Regions from separate parts of the Homo sapiens genome. Here region 1 is linked to region 2. The links are contacts of gene promoters, found by promoter capture Hi-C in blood cells and fetal thymus (Javierre and others, 2016). All regions are on one chromosome and are shown on one strand. Each heading gives the region's core, a stretch centred on a gene start or on the middle of the fragment in contact. The rest is flanking DNA. Distances are from core to core; before and after follow the strand shown.

What was found. The method cuts DNA at HindIII sites, captures the fragments that hold promoters and counts their contacts. A CHiCAGO score of 5 or more calls a contact.
Region 1: a contact is called between a fragment that was not itself captured here and the fragment with the promoter of DIAPH2 in region 2, in 2 of 17 cell types (monocytes and total B cells). The highest score is 5.5, in monocytes.

The regions. Positions count from the first base shown.
Region 1 is chrX:96,994,513-96,997,212 of GRCh38, forward strand. The region is part of intron 17 of DIAPH2 (diaphanous related formin 2); the gene reads left to right. Among named protein-coding and RNA genes, the nearest start is that of RPA4, 110 kb to the left of the region's middle. The HindIII fragment of the contact is 3,003 bases long and covers 1-2,700 here.
Region 2 is chrX:96,683,405-96,686,104 of GRCh38, forward strand. DIAPH2 (diaphanous related formin 2) reads left to right here and starts at 1,438. Exons shown (of 27, transcript NM_006729.5): 1 at 1,438-1,786. The coding sequence starts at 1,655. RefSeq lists enhancers at 1,226-1,941, 1,942-2,655. The HindIII fragment of the contact is 2,760 bases long and covers 629-2,700 here.

The DNA.
Region 1 (2,700 bases), core at 137-2,636, 310 kb after region 2:
AGAGGTTGGGAGTCCATCCACGTATGTATGGAATTTAAAACCATGAGAATGTATAAAATTACTGTATTAGTCCATTCTCACATTGGTATAAGGAAATACATGAGACAGGGTAATTTATAAAGGAAAGAGGTTTAATTGACTCACAGTTCAGCATGGCTGGGGAGGCCTCAGGAAACTTACAATCATGGCAGAAGGTGAAGGGGAAGCAAGGCACCTTCTTCACAAGGCAGCAGGAAGGAGAAGTGCCAAAAGAAGCAGGAAGAGCCCCTTATAAAACTATTCAGATGTCATGAGAACTCACTCACTGTCATGAGAACAGCATGGGTGAAACTGCCCCCATGATTCAATTACCTCTACTTGGTCTCTCAGTTGACACGTGGGGATTATGGGGATTACAATTCAAGATGAGATTTTGGTGAGGATACAAAGCCTAACCATATCAATTACCTGAAGAAGAACTGTAGAAAGAGAAAAATAAAGAGGGCCCAGGATTAATTGCTGAATGCTAACATTTGAAGGGCCAATGGGAGGAAGAGCAGCCAGCAAAGAAAATGCCAACAAAGAAGTGGCAAAATGAAGAACAATATGATATAATAAATGCCGGGAGAAGAAACTGTTTCAGGAAGAAAGGAGGGACTAGTTTCGTCGTGTAGATTATTGCTTAAAGTCAGATAAAGGCAGCAAATATATTTTAGGTTTGGCAGTATCAAGAATGTTATTGATCTTAATGCATTATTTTCTAACACTTAGTGTAGATGGAAGCCAGATTGGAATTCTTTGGAGTTTAGGACCATTGGAGGTATCTGTTGATGTCAGTCATTGAGATAATACAGGAGGAATGTAACGTTTGTTAAGAGAAAGAAAGAATGAATTGTTAAATCCTATTGAATATGATAAGCAGCTGGAGATGTTCAGCAACTAGCAAAGCATATGATCTGGAACTCACAGACCAGTCTGGGCTGAGGCTAAGGATTTTGAAGGTATTCAGTAGTTGAAGCCTCACTGGGTATTCTCAGCCACATTTCAAAATAAAATTGGGTCCAATTTATTATGGAAAATTGGCAAATTTTATTAATATATAATACCTTACAGCAGTACACACATCACAGTTTACAAAGGAGACAGTTGACAAATGAATGAAATGTGTTAGTTTAGCCCTCTCTAAAGATTAATTATTTGAATACACTCTAATATTGGTTAAGGCAGTTAATACCTGAAGAGTATATTTTCTTTTTTTTTTTCTCAGTTAAGTGGCTGTAGGCTACTGTCTTATAGGCAGTAATGTGTAGAAGATTGTAGCTCAGAAGAATATATGAAGAGTATATTTTCTGAGTCTGGGATCCTAGTTAATATTAAAAAAATGTGACATCAGGCATTCATATAAAATCCAAACCTAATCAAAGCAGATAGTCCTATTTAAATAACTAGGCTTGAAAAAAAGAAAGGGTTAACAACTCAAATCTTGAATTTGTTTCCATTGTATTTACACCCTAGATTTCTATGAAGTGCCACATTACATTATATGCTTATTTATCTCTACTCTTCACCTAGAGATAAAATACAGTCAGACAAATAGCTGAGAATCTGAAATTCAAAGCAGTTCTTTTGAAAGTTAATTCTCCAGTAAGTTTCTCCAGTAAGTTTCATCCTCAGATTGCTTCATTCACAATGGAGTATAATGGTTGGTTGGAAATGTGGAAATGACCATTTTTGATTTAAATTACTTTTGTCACACAGTTTTTGATACTAGCAAAGAAAACATTGAATATGATTGACCTAGTTAATTTTAATTTCATACAATTCATAAAAGTTATGTTAGTAATTTTACAGAGTAAAACCTTTATCCATTTATGCTTCTGAAAAATGACCTTGTAAAATGTCAGAATTGCCATGGTATGCTTTTGAAAAATACTTAATGATTTGTGCTTGATGCATTTAAACTCTTTATTGAAGGTCAAGGATTCTATTAGGGCATTTTTGTCAGTAAAATGTTGACAGAAATGAACTAGGTAGTTGAATTCTCACTGACAATACTGTCACAATTGTTAAGAAATTGTCTAATGATAAGGCCAGATTTTGCTCATTATTTTTCTTAGTAACTACCACTAGTTCATTAAATATTGCCTTAATTAGAGTGTGTGTTAAGTGTCAAAACTTAATGGTCACAGTCACAATCCTTATTTAATAGATACTTAGTTTGAATTGCTATAGTTATATTATTCTCAATGACTGTGTATATATGCCATGCATTTGGATGAGATGGAATTGTGTGGGTATTCCAAAAGCACTGATGATTATGTTGATTTCAGTGTATTTTTGATATTCGATATTGAGCTTAGATACCCACAGTTTGATCTGTGAAATCACATTCCAAACTAGTAAAGCCACAAAATAAAAGCAATGAAGTAAAGCTGGGATATATTCTTATTTTCTTATTTATAACTCTTTCCTATCACCTAATCAGTGCAGTATATTTTGCGAACAGTCAGATTTGTTGCCACCTAAAATAAGAGTTGCAGTTGTTTCATGGTGATAGTTTTTCTCACCTCTGACCTCGTTAAGGAGATGGTTATAAACACAATTGTTTTAAAGGCCTAATAAGACATGTGAATATAGTGTAAAAAAAATCTTGGGATTATCTCTTTTATTTATGTCAGTGATTACTTGAATGGAAAATTCCTAGGTTAGTCTGTACAAAGA
Region 2 (2,700 bases), core at 188-2,687:
GTGGAGATTGCGGTGAGCTGAGATTGCACCTTTGCACTCCAGCCTGGGCAACAAGAGGGAAACTCTGTCTCAGAATTAAAAAAAAAAGAAAGTTAATGACAATGACAAAGCTAGAATTAAAGCTGTTTTCAGATATCTGGTGTTCTTTTCATTCTACTGCCCAAGTTAGCTGTCTCCTTGCACCTATAGCATGGTCAAATGCATCCTAATGCACTCTCAATAAATATGTTCAGATACAAATTCCATTCAGCATATTAAATTTAGGCCGAAGGGGAGAAGGTCAAAAGGAGTCATAGTCTGGAGATATCTTCAGTAATAGGTGTATGGCATGTTTATAGATTTCATATTTAAATTTACTTTATAGGTAGCTTTCCTAGCATATGTGCTCCTATTCTATGATGGTGGTTCATTCAAATCCTACCCACCCCGTCTAATGTTCTCAGTGTGTACCTTTACTTTTAAAGGGCATCATTTAAAGAGGATGGAAGAAATACAGTGTGGGTACTATATTTTGTCCTGAGGACAAAATGCTAGGTATGACGCAAGGACTTAAGACTATCGTCCCAACAGTGCCCTGCTGCTGCACAAAAACACCTAGCATTTGTCTAGGGATTTTCATTTACAACAAAGCTTTGACACACATGATCTTATTCACTCCCCACAACAACTCTAAACTAGTTCGGGAACCTGAAAATAGCACTCAATTCAATTGCTAGCTGTATGTAAGTGTTTTGGTTATAGAACCTAACAATCCCCTAGGGATTAAGCGGTGGGCGCCTGCTGCTTCAACAACCCTGCAGCAAGGGAATAAAGGAACAACTGTATTTCTTCGGTCACAACGTAATCACGACAACAGAAAGCACTCACTCTTTCCACTCTGACCCACACACAGTCTGTCGAGGCAATTAATCAGCACTCCCGGTGGTTTTCCTATAGGATGCCAGTTCCCTTGCCAATCAAGTCTTTCCACAGACTGTAGCAGGACCACACCCCCGGAGAGGCCTCAGGGAGGGAAGGTGCTGTGGCCCACAGAAGTGAAAGCTGATACTCAGGTTGACCCGCCAGTGAAACTTACAGGCGGATCTTCCCGGGCCTCAGTTTCCCCATCTCTAAAATGGGCTACCCTTCCTTTCTCTTGACTAGTTCCCTCCCTGTTCTCGCTGGGCCACTAGGAAGTGAAATCAGTGCCTAACCGCAGCTGAAAGTGCTCTGTTAGGCTCCAGTCACCGCGCCGGGCATGCTCAGTAGCTGGGGCCGGCTCGGCTGCGGGAGTAGGAAGCAGCTTTGCGCGCCCGGGCGGCCGATGCGGGCACTTTGAAGAATCACGTGTGTTGAGGCCCTCTTAAAGAGATAGGCACCTACTTTTCCCTCCACCCTAAACACCGCCCTGAGGGCGGCGGCGACCGTGGTAATTGCAACTGCTCAGGGGCAGGGCTTGCCCCAGCGCCGAGTAGTGGCAACGGCGTGGTTGCGTCGGGGGTGCCTGGGAGCCTGGAGTCCCGGGGGCCTGAAATCGGCAGCTTCCCGGGCAGACACTCTCTCCCTCAGGAAGAGGTGCCGCCGAGTCAGCGCGGGGCAGTGTGAGCGCCCCGAGGTGCTTTCTCAGTTGAGGAGAGGTGGGGTTACAGGGCACAGGTGACAGGGCCGGAGAAAGATGGAGCAGCCCGGGGCGGCGGCGTCGGGAGCGGGAGGCGGCAGCGAGGAACCCGGTGGGGGCCGGAGCAACAAGCGGAGCGCGGGGAACCGGGCCGCCAATGAAGAGGAAACGAAAAACAAACCCAAATTGGTGAGTGCTCCCGCAGCCCCCGCCGGCCTTAGGGACAGGGAGAGCCCCGGGATCCTCCTGCCATTGAACACGGGGGCACCCGGGGCCCCCTCCCAAGGATGACCGCGACCTCGCTGTGCAACTCGGGGAGCCGCTAAAGGAGTGGCCACGCCGAGGCGCGGAGACGGCGTGGGGGCGGAAGAGCACCCCCTTCTCTACTTAACCCCTTTCTCACTCTTGTCAGCCCGGGAGGCGGTGCGGGAAGGAGAAAGGCCCAGCCCCAACTTGGGGACACCCCGAGTACTGGGTAGGGCTGTTGTTTGTCTAACTTGTGGGCGCAAACCTTTGCGCGATTCCATTCTCCTCCCACTTCTTGTTAGTTGCTGTTTTGCCTCCTAACGCGTAGGGTCCGGGGCAGGGGAACCTCCCTCCTTTTTATTCCAAGTCCTTGGGAGCCCACCTACAGCTTCGCAAATCAAGAAGAACACTATTTATGCTCCCAGTCTTTCTACTTTACCAGAAATCTCAGGAAGAGGCGCCTACGTGCCTTTTTCCTCCTCCTTGCCTCTCTCCATGTGCTCTCCCAAGAAATGTTTCTTTGGAAGGGTGGGGGCGCGTGGGAGTTTGAGGCTGGGTGAGGTACCACCAACTGTCGAGTGTGTGTAATAGGCATAGTCATACAGTACTTCCACTTAGTTGATTAAGAACGCTCAAAAGCAGTAGGCACAAACTGTGCAAATCTCACCGTGCTGATAGTGTGAACCGATGGTAGCAGTCCATTTCCTGCCACTGAATGTGCAGAGGAATGAAATCGATGAGGCCTGGTATTGCATTGGGAAATACTGGAGTTTCCTCAGCTCATCAGAAGGGTTCCGCTTTTTGTAAACTTTCTAATTTGGGTGGTGTGAGGGGAAAGGGTTTTCCTGTACAAATTC